Regions from separate parts of the Homo sapiens genome. Here region 1 is linked to region 2. Evidence: promoter capture Hi-C in 16 types of primary human blood cells and fetal thymus (Javierre and others, 2016). All regions are on one chromosome and are shown on one strand. Each heading gives the region's core, a stretch centred on a gene start or on the middle of the fragment in contact. The rest is flanking DNA. Distances are from core to core; before and after follow the strand shown.

Region 1 (5,568 bases), core at 2,297-4,796, 2.2 Mb after region 2:
CTTGAGTTTTTTTATATTTTACTCTAGAAAAACTTTAAGAAATTACAAGCAGAAAACATATGGTAGGTCAAACCTAGTGAGAAGTAATCACTTTTAAAATATCTATGCTATGTATTATGATCTCTTTCCTATGCACATATAATATGTACATTTATAAACTAATGTTCAAATTCCCCTGTAGTATAATCATTGAAACAAGTTTTCTTCACTGATAACTTGAGTACTTTTCAAATGTAATTAATTATTCTTGGAAATAATGATAGGTTTAAAAATATTGGCACTTTTTGAAACTGTGTTGGTAAAATTCATGTAACATAAAAATAACCATTAAAATGTTCAAATTTGGTGGCATTTAGTACATTCACAATGCAGTGCAAGCACTACCTCTGTGTAGTGGCAAATAATTTTCATTACCACAAAAGAAAACCGTGAACTCATTAAGCAGTCATTCCCCATTCCACTCTCTGCCCAGCTCCTAGCAAACACTAATCTACTTTCCCTCACTACTGATCATCACAATAAGTAGCCTTTTTTCTTTCTTCTTTCACTTAGCATGTTTTCAAATTTCATCCATGTTGTAATATATGTCAGTACTTCATTTCATTTTGTAGCTGAATAATATCCATATGTATATATCACATTTTGTTTATCCATTCATCAAGTGATGGATGTTTGCTTATGTTCACCTTTTGGGTATTGTTAATAAATATATACAGTGAGTATATAAAAGTACTTGTTTGAGTATTTGTTTTCAATCATATGTGGTGTATACATAGGAGTAGAGTTGCTAGCTCATATGGTTCCTTCTATGTTTAAATTTTTGAAGTACTGATAAACTGCTTTCTGTAGCAGGTGCACAATTTAGCATTTCCACCAACACTCTAGAAGAGTTCTAACTTCTCCACCTCTCCACTGATATTTGTTCTTTTTAAGTAATTCCCATTCTAGTGGGTGTTAATTGGTACCATCAGGTGGTTTTGATTTACGTTTCTGAAAAGACTAATAATGGAAGCATCTTTCATAGAACTGTTGGCTATTTGTATATCTTCTTTGGAGAATTGTATATTTAAGAGCTTTGCCTATTTTTAAAATTTGCATATAATTGTACATATTTATGTAGTACATATATTTTCATGCATCCACAAAATGTGTGATAACCAAAAAAGGATAACTGGGATACTCATCACCTAATGCATTTATTATTTGTTTGTGTTGGAAACATTTCAAATGTTCTTTTAGGTATTTGGAAATAAGCATTAAATTATTGCTAACTATGGTCGCCCTAAGTATGCTATTGAACACTAGAACTTACTCCTTCTGTCCAACTGTATTTTTGTAGCCATTAACCAACCTCTCTTCATTCCCCTCCTTTCCTAACTTCTGGTATCCACCATTCTACTCTATAGTTCCATGAGATGGATTCTTTCAGCTCCTGCACATGAGTAAGGACATGTGATAATTTGTCTTTCTGCATCTGGCTTATTTCACTTAACGTAGTGTCCTACAGTTCCATTCATGTTGCTGCAGATGACAGGATTTTATTCCTTTTTCTGGCTCAATAATCTTCCTTTTTATATGTATGTCACATTTTCTTAATCCATTCATCCGTCAGTGAACACTTAGGTTGATTCTATATCTTTGCTATTGTGAATAATGATGCAATAAACATGGCAATGCATATATCTCTTTGCTGTACTGGTTTCCTTTCTTTTGAATATATACTCAGCAGCGGGATTGCTGCATCATACGGTAACTCTATTTTTAGCTTTTTGGGGAAACTCCATCCTATGTCCCATAGTGGCTGTATTAATATACATTTACAGCAACAGTATACAAGCATTCCTCTTTGCTTCCTAGCCAGCAACTGTTATTCTCTGTCTTTTTAGTAAGAGCCATTTGAACTGGGGTAATATGGTATCTCACATGGTTTTGATTTGCGTTTCCCTGACGGTTAGTGATGTTTAACGTATTTTCATATATCTGTTGGCCATTTGTGTCTTTGTTTCAGAAATGCCTATTCAGATCATTTGCCCATTTGTAAATCAGATAATTTGGTTTTTGGTTATTGAGCTGAGTTTGTTTTACATTGTGATTTGTTATTCCATTGTTAGATCAATAGTTTGCTAAGATATTCTCTCTTTCTGTAGGTTGTCTCCTCACTTTGTTGTTTTCTTTGCTGTGCAGAAGCTTTCTAGCTTGATTTACTCTCATTTGTCTATTTTCGCTTTGATTGCCAGTGCTTTTCAGATCTTATACAAAAAATCTTTCCCCAGAACAATGTCTTAAAGCATTTCCCCAGGCTCTTATTCTAGTAATTTCATATTTTCGGGTCTTTTCTTAAATTTGTTTAGCCTTGTTCTGTGGCCTAACATATGCTCTATACTGGAGAATGTTCCATATGCTGATGACAAGAATGTATATTCTATAGCAATTGGATGAAATATTTTGTAAAGGTCAGTTAAGTTCATTTGGTCTAGAGAACAGTTTAATTTCAATGTTTCTTTGTCTAATTAAGCTGTCCATTACTGAAAGTGGAGTACTGAAGTCTCCCAGTGTTGTTGTACGCCATTCTATCACTCTGTTTAGATCTTCAAATGTTTGCCTTATATATTTCTGTGTTCCAGTGTTGGGTACATACATATATACAATTGTTATATCCTCTTGCTGTATTGGCATTTTCATTGTTATACAGTGACCTTCTTTGCCTCTCTTTACAGTTTTTGACTTTTAATCTATTGTATCTAAGTATGACCTTTCTCTCTCTCTCTCTCTCTCTCTTTCTTTCTTTCTCTCTCTTTCTTTCTTTTTTTTTTTTTGAGATGGAGTCTCGCTCTGTGGCTCAGGCTGGAGTGCAATGGCATGATCTCGGCTCACTGCAATCTCTGCCTCCTGGATTCAAGGGATTCTCCTGCCTCAGCCTCCCAAGTAGCTGGGATTACAGGCGTGTGCCACCACGCCCAGCTAATTTTTGTATTTTTAGTAGAGACAGGGTTTCACCATGTTGGCCAGGCTAGTCTTGAACTCCTGACCTCAGGTCATCCGCCTGCCTTGGCCTCCCAAAGTGCTAGGATTACAGGCGTGAGCCACCATGCTGGGCCAGAGTATAGCCTTTCCGGTTCTTTTTTCATTCCTGTTCATTTTCATGTTGCTGCTGATGCCCTCTCTGATTTGAGGTCTTCTTTGTCTCAGCAAAAGACGAGTCCCCAAATTTAATGCACTGGGGTTGCTAGCTTCGACTCCACTTTTTGTCTCTAGCTGCCCTCAGAGATTTTTCTTCCTACAGGCAGTCAGGATGCTTTCTAGGGAGTGAGGCAAGAACAGCATTCCTGCAAAGGACACCAAAATGGTAGAGAAGCTAGCTGCCTGCCTGGATCTCACATTTTACAGAGGAAACCGTGAGTCCAGGGGGAATTTTCTACATGGTGCCTAGCAGCTTTGAGTTGGGGAATCACAGAGACAGAAGTCTATTAATCTTTCCAGCTGCTCATATGTATTCACTTTCTTGTGGACCCACAGATCGTCATAGTCTCAATTTTCAGTTCTGCAATATTGCTTGTGACAATCTTGGCACTAGACAGCTATTTTTAGTTTTCTTTGGGGTAAAGTCAGATTGCTTCCACTCTACCATTTTGGTGATGTCACTCTCCCTTGGCCTATTTTTTAAAAATTGGGTTGTCTTTTGTTGTTTTTAAGAGTCCTTTATATGTATTGGATATTAGCAGTTTTTAGATAATTGATTTGGAAATATTTCCTCCCACTCCGTAAGTTGGCTTTTCAAGTTCTGAATTGTGCACTTTGATGCAAAATTTTTTAATTCCAGGGAAGTCCAATTTATTTTTTCTTTTGTTATTGGTGCTTTTGGCGGTATAGCTAAAAAATCATTGCCAAATCTAAAGTTTTGAAGACTTATTCCTATAGTTTCCCTGAAGGTTTTATAGCTTTAGCTCTTACCTTTAGACATTTGATACATTTCAAGTTAATTTTTGCACATGATGTGAGGTAGAGGTCTAACTTCATCCTTTTGCATGTGGATAACCAGTTGTCTAAGCACTATTTCTTAAGGAGTCTATTCACGTCTCATTAAATGAACTTGATAACTTTGTGAAAAGTCAATTGACCACAATGTCTGGGTTTATTTTCAGACTCTTCATCTCTTCCATTAATCACTGTGTGTATTCTTATTTGATCATCAGCCTGCTTTGATTACTCTAGATTTTCTAGTAAATTTTGAAATCTAGAAGTGTGTCTTCCACCTTGGTTTTTCTTACTCAAAGTTTGGTTACTCAGATCTCTTGCAATTTAATAGGATCTTTAGAATTTGCTCTTTCTTTTTCCCAAAAATAAATGCTCATGGGAATAATAATTAGGATTACATTAAATCTGTAGATCTCTATGGCTAGTATTGCCATATTATAAATATTTAGTCTTCTAACTCATTACCCACAGGATGTCCTTTTTAAAAATCCAGGTAATCTTTAAGTTCTTCTCCAATATTTTGTGATTTTTCAATGTACAAGTCTTTCATCTGTTTAGTGAAATATTCTCCTTAAAATATGATTTATTTTGATGCTATTATAAATGGAATTGCTTTCTTAATTCAATTTTCAGATTGTTCATTGCTAGTGTACACAACTATAACTGATTTTTACGATTTAATGTTCTATCCTGTGGGGCTTGCTGAATATTGTTCATTAGCTCTAATATGGTTTTTCTGCAGTTTAAAGCATTTTTATAATATCATCATCTTTATGAAGAGAGATAATTTCCATTTTTTTTTTCTTTTTTTTCTTTTCAACTTGGATGCCTTTTATATATCTTCATTGTCTGATGACCCTGACTAGAATTTTAAGTGTACAAGAAAAGGGCAAAAGTGTGCATTCTTGCCTTGTTCATGATCTTGGGAGGAAAGCTTTCAGTCTTTCACTCTTGAGTATAATACTACCTGTAGATTTTTTATAAATGCCCCATATATCGTGTTGAGAAAATGATCTTCTAATGATAGATTCTTGATTGTTTTGAGTTGCCTTTCCAGAGAGAGGGACTACAGAAGTTCCCTAATGCATACTTTTCATTGATGTCACTTTCGCCACCTGTTTTTGAATTCGTAGAAACAATCATGCTTCTTGAAAACATACCTGCCACAATAGTCATACATGATAACGTGAAGTGAGATCACGGGTAATGCCATCTCCAACAAATACTATTAAAATGTAGATTGATTTTCAGTCCCTTTCACTGTTTTTGGTTTATGTGTTTATGTACAACAGTCCACTAGAAGAAGATGTAACTCTTCCTTGATTAGCTCAGTGGTTCAATTTCTCTTTATGCCCTTCTAGTCTTCAGACAATTGGGTGCCCTTGAGACCCTCAGAAAACTTACTTGCTCCTGCTACATCCCACCTGGAATTGGTCTGTCCTTGGTGTTCTCACATTGCTGCAACAAATGACTCATGCCTCACAGCAGAGTGACACTGCCTGAAAGCCTGCTAACTCTTGCTCCAAGGGAGAAACATAACGCACCCATCCATTCCCCACGTAGGCACCGTGTAAAGTCTCAGGAAATACTTGA
Region 2 (6,076 bases), core at 1,553-4,052:
CAGATTCTGTTTTGAGAAATAAATATTAGATATATTTGATATTCTCTGTATGCCTCCCCCGAGTGTCAATCCTCTCCCTCTCTTAAATTTGGTGATCATGCCCTTTCATGTTTTATATACTATTACAGTACTACTCATCTATGTAGCCATAAGCAATAGATGATATTTTCAGACTTTATATACACAGTATACTGTACATGTTTTGCAATTTGCTTTTCACTCAACATTATATTTTTGAAATTTAGCTGTTACTACCCATAGCTCAAATTCATTCATCGAGAACACCATTATTTATTCATTCACCTGCTGACATTTACTTGGCTTCCATTTTTGAGATTACAAATAATACTGCAATGAACATTCTTTTATATGTCTCTTTGTGCATATAAAAGGTAGAGTTTTGCCAGTGTCTATATCTAGAAATAGAATTTCTAGATTGAGGGGTATTGCCTTTATTAGACATCGTCAAATTGTTCTTCATAGCAGTTCTACCAACTTAAACTCCTTCTAGCCGTAAATCAGAGTTCCACTGCTAGAACTTCAACAACACTTGGGGTTGTCTGACTTTTTAAATTTTCACAAAACCGATGGTTGTGAAATGGTATCTCGTGGTTTTACTTTTCAATTTCCCTGAATAGTAATAAAGTTAGGCATCTTTTCATGTCTTTATTGGCCATCTGGGTTTCCTTGACTATGAATTACTTACTCAGATATTTTGTCAATTTTTCTATTAGGTTTCTTTCTTATTTATAGGAGTTCTTATATATCCTGGATACCAAGTCATTCATTCATTTAATCAATATTTTTCTAGCACCTACTTGGCTCCAAGAATGGTTCTAGGCACTGAGAATGCAGCTATGATCAAAACAGACAAAATCCTTGCACTCATGGAACTCAACATTCTAGCGGGTGAAGGTAAATGACCAATAATATTGATAAATAAAACAGAAGTGGTAGATAGTGATACATAAGCAGGGAAGAGGGATAGGGAACATGTATGTGTGGTGATGGAGAAGGGGATTGTTGAATTACAATTTTCAATAAAGTGGTCTAGGAAGGCTTCAGTGAGAAAGTGACATTTGAGCAAAGACCTGAAGGAGGTGAGAGTGCATGCAGAGTGAACAGCAAGTGTAAAGGCCCTGAGGTAAGAGTGTGCCTGGCAAGTCCTAGCAACAACAAGGAGTCAGTGTGACTAAGCAAAGCTAGTTAGGGAGAGTGGTGGGAAATGGTGGGAGATGTCCGAAAGGTGATGACAGCTTGTCTTTTTTTTTTTTTTTTTTTTTTGAGACAAGGTCTTGCTCTGTCACCCAGGCTGGAGTGCAGTGGCGCCATCACAGCTCACTGTAGATGTGACCTCGCTGGCTCAAGGGGATGCTCCCACCTCAGCCTCCTGAGTAGCTGGGACTGCAAGCACTTGCCACCACATCCAGCTAATTTTTATAGTTTTTGTAGAGACAGGGTTTTGCCACGTTTCCCAGGCTGGTCTTGAACTCCTGGGCTCAAGTGATCCTACCACCTCGGCCTCCCAAAGTGCTGGGATTACAGGCATGAGCCACTGTGCAGGCCAGTTTGTCTTTTAACTTGTTTATATTGTCTTAAAGTACATACATTTTGAAATTTCATGTAGCTAAATGTCTTATTCTCATTCCATATTCCAAGCTCATACTCAATTTTTTTTTCTGAAAGTTATAAAGTTTTGCTTTTCACATTTAGATCTTTAATCCACCTGGAACTGATTTTTCTTCCATGGTTTGAGGTAGGGGTCTAATTTTTATAATTTTCCATATGGATAAGCAGTAGTCCTAGTACCACTTAGTGGATAATCCATTCTTTCCCCACTGATTTGAAATGTCCCACACGCTGCATATCAACCTTCCGTATATGTGTGGTCTGTTTGAGGGGTTTATATTGTGTTTCATTGATTGTCTATCTCCACAGCATACTTTTAATTACTACAGATTTACAGTCACTCTTGATATCTAGTGTATTATAGATTCTGGAGCAAATGAATAACACGATCGAAAAATTACTTTGGGAAAAATATTTTTATGGCTGTCAACAGAGTAAACATGTCAAAGGAAAGAGTAAACCCAACAGGATTTATTTAAAGAAAAGTGCAATAACCCAGATAGGCTATCACAAGGGCTTACAATAAAGTTATGGCAGTGTGAATGGAGAGAAAATAAGGAATCTAAAAGTAATTCCACGTAAAATATTAACAGGGTGTGTTGACTGATTGGATATAGAGATGAGGAGGGGGAAGACGATATATGGCTTTCCAGTGAAATGATAATGAGTTAGTTTTGTGACGCAGTGATGTGTTAACAATGGACTCTATTAGGTAAGAGGTCTGGGCCAGGGATATATATTTGGACATTGTCTAGTTAGAGGTGAACTGGAGGGGACGCAGAGGAGGAGCAAAGGTCTGGGCTTTGGGGAATTCTCCGATTTAGGGCGTGGAAGAAAGAAGAGGAAAGGAAATGGTAGGATAACCAACACGGGACATTATAACCTTAAGAAATATATATATATATATATATGTATTTTTTTACTGAATGATGTGGGTCGTATTGACACAACAGGTTTGAGATCTCCCATAGGTATGACTGTGTTTTGTTTCTGTGGCCTTCAAAGTCCTCAGAACAATTTTGATGTCACAGGTGGCATTTAAAACCCATTCCTTGCTGGACCTGGTAGAGACGCCCCCAGTCCGTCAGGTCTCTCGCTGCAGTTCCGCAGTTTGACCGCAGGGGACGGAATCTGCGGCGGCCTGGAAAACTGGCGGGGGCGCGAGGCGCCGCTCTCTCTTGGGTCAGATTCTCAGCTCCCAGCTCCCCGCTCCCGGCTCCCGGCGCCCGGCGCCCGGCGCGGAGCTGTTCCTCAAACGACACGCAGCCGAGGTGGGTGGGTGTGGGGACGCGGGAGCCAGTGTCGTCGGATCGGCCCGCAGTCCGCTGTCCTGCTGAGCCCGGAGGCCGCCTGGATGGAGCCGCCGCTCCCGGTCGGAGCCCAGCCGCTTGCCGTATCCGCCGGAGAGAAGGGAGAGGGGAGGCCGCGCAGGGCCGGGGGTGGGGGTCGGGGGCCCTGCGGAACACGGTGGGGCGGGGCAACCGGGTGGCCCAGAGGCCGAGCAGAGAGGGGGAGGGGGCCGGCGCGGGAGACGAAGCAGGGCGGGGCGGGGCGGGGGAGGGCGGCGGTGGGGGGGGGGTGGAAGACCCCCTTCGCCCCGCAGTGCACCACTCCTCCCCACCGCGCTTCCGAAGGAGACCCTTGACTAGCGCCCGCATACTGTCGAGGGTATGGAGATGAAGGGTCCTCTCCGGGAGCCCTGCGCCCTGACCCTAGCCCAGAGGAACGGGCAATATGAGTAAGTAACCACCTGATTCCCACAGAGGAGGGGAGCCTGCCATTACCTCCCAACCCCAAACCGCGACGGGTCACCCACTGTCCTCCTACTGAAGCCACGCGGGCAACAGGTTCAGGTCCAGGTGTGAAGTGCCAGTGCTCTCTAACCTCGGGGCTTTGTCCCCAACTTCCAAGCCTCTGGATTGTGCTTGGCAGTGTGGCTCAGTGGAAGGACTGAATGGGCGGGGAAGCAGGAAGCCTGGGTTCTTAGTTCCTGCCCCTGCAACTGACATGTGTTGTGTAACGTTGGGCAAGTCAATAAAGCTTTCTGGGCCAAAGTTAACTCTTCAGTTTAATAAAACCATTAACTGCCTTACCTTACAGCCTTTGGAATTATAACTGGGGGAAAAATAAATGCGAGAGTGGCTTCCAAAAAGTAAAAGTGCTATGGAAATGCTTCATTGTTAACGTTACAGACTTGTCTTAACCCTATTCAGCTGGTTTCTCCAGTCTCCCCGTCCCCTTATCCCACTGGGTTGAAGGCATATTCATTAATTCAGTAATGGTTTAGTGTAGGCCAGAAACTGCCTCACTTACTGACTTTACTGTTAGAAAGAAAAGGTAATGAAATGTGTAGAGATAGAAATGACAGTATTTTATCAGTGTGTCACCTTCCTCTCTGCCATAGGAGCTCCGTAAATACTGTTGACTGATTGATCAAAAGATTATTTTGATAAGCTATCACCATAGCTGCTAACCTCACTCTATTGTCACTAATATCTTATCTCAAAAATATCCATGGTGACCATTACGTATCATAGGCCCCTATCCCTGTGTGCCCAAGACACCTCACTTGGATATTCATTGGCTTCTTGACATCATATTCCTTCCCAGTTTAAAAATTGTTCACTTAAATCTTGCCATCTCCCAACATTGGCTTCTGCCTAAAACCAATTTTCTCAGTCCCCACTTTTAGATCCTCTGTATCTATGCTGTCAGATTTACACGGAAGAAATTCCCACTGGCCCAACCTGCTCTTCTCTGAGACTATTGGTGCCACTCTAACTGGATGTCAGCTAATTCTGTGAAGTAGCTCTTTCATAGGTCCTGCTTAGTCAGCTCTACTGGGAAGTTCATCAAACCCGGATTTCATCAAACCCTGGAAGACTAGTTTAATGAAACTAAACTAAATTCAGAATTTAATAAAACAAAATTCAGCAGAAAAGTGGAACACCACTAACATTTCCAAAGGCTAGAGTGGGTTACAGAGAGGTGACCCTTGGGCAAACCAGTAAAACTTGTGTGCCTTGGTTTCCTCTAATGTAAAAACAAAATCATGAAGATTGAATAGAGTAGCTACATTGTTGAGATGACCACAGCCCAGAATCTAGTCCCTCGGATTAGTAGATTTGGAACTCTGTTGAGCTAATAAGGAAGTCGTGTGTTCCAATTCTGTGTAAGTTATGGGGGTATAGTTGGGGGTATATGTGGGGGTATGGGGCTGCTATATAACTAACATTAATATATAGGTAACACTATATAACAACTATATAACTAACAACTAATATAGTTGTTGCTATATTAGCAGTTTATATATAAACTATGTAAATAGTTTTAAATATATATAAACTATAGTTTTAAATACATATAAACTATAGTTTATATATAAACTAACATATAACTAACAACTAATATAGTTGTTGCTATATAACTAACATTCAATGGCTGCTTATGTGCCAGGTACTGTTCTAAGCCCTTTTCATTAGTTAGTTCATTTAATCCACATGTGAGGGTTACTATAAGATAGTAATATCATCATCCCCCTTTTATAGATACAGAAATTGAAGCACAGACAGGTTAAGTCACTTGTTTGCAATTAGGGAGTAGAATACCTGAGATCTGATCCTATGTAACATGTCTCAGAATTACACTGAGAAGTTTCTCTTGAAAGCATTTGCTGGAGACACCTAATACCATAATACCATCTGTAATCCTCATATTCTTGTCTCTCTGGTGTCTTTTCTGACTCGAGTGTCCAGAACTTTTTACTTTTGGCTTTTTTATCCTAGAACTTGAAGCCTGACTTAAATCTTTAGGTCTGTGGTTCCTACTGTCAACCATAGGAAATTTGCTTGACCAAAATTACAATTAAAAATCAGGGTTTTTTTGGAAACAGGGAATCAAACACTTAAGATTCATATTTTTCAAGGATAATAGATTATGACAAAACCTGTTTGACCTTTAACCTTCCTTGAACAAATCAAAGTGTTTCCTAGGGATAAGGCAGAGTTGGCATTCAGGATTTGTCACTCTTTTCTGTTTGACAACTACCAAATTCTGAATTCCATTGTTTTGCTGTATACCAATTATTTCTAATCTTTATATTCTGAAATGAATAATTACACTCAGAATTTTTATGCTTATTCTTAGCCCTACTCTTTTATTGTAATTTAGTGGGTAACACGTAGTAAATACTCAATAAATGTTGGTGAAATTCACTTAAATTCTCAGTTTATTTGTTTTGTAATAGTTTTTAACAGTACTGTCCAGATGAAGCTTTAATGCTAATGTTCAACACCATTTCTTGTTTATGTATTTTGAGATTTTAGTGGTTTGTGTTTATCTTCCTCAAAGTAAGCTCTTCCTCCTTAACCCTTGATTTCTCAGCCTTTTATCTGGTTTCTGGTTTCCATCTGGGTTTATAGGACTCTCCACTCAACTCATGAACTTT

The links. Contacts are between HindIII fragments. The CHiCAGO score rates a contact against its expected background, and 5 or more counts as called.
Region 1: a contact is called between a fragment that was not itself captured here and the fragment with the promoter of OCRL in region 2, in 1 of 17 cell types (M1 macrophages). The highest score is 5.4, in M1 macrophages.

Annotation. Positions count from the first base shown.
Region 1 is chrX:131,786,334-131,791,901 of GRCh38, forward strand. The region is part of intron 3 of FIRRE (firre intergenic repeating RNA element); the gene reads right to left. Among named protein-coding and RNA genes, the nearest start is that of FIRRE, 42 kb to the right of the region's middle. The HindIII fragment of the contact is 2,722 bases long and covers 2,186-4,907 here.
Region 2 is chrX:129,537,457-129,543,532 of GRCh38, forward strand. It overlaps OCRL (OCRL inositol polyphosphate-5-phosphatase), which reads left to right and starts at 2,803. Exons shown (of 24, transcript NM_000276.4): 1 at 2,803-3,022; 2 at 3,288-3,367. The coding sequence starts at 2,984. RefSeq lists an enhancer at 2,636-2,930 and silencers at 2,647-2,706, 2,817-3,016. The HindIII fragment of the contact is 8,325 bases long and covers 1-3,667 here.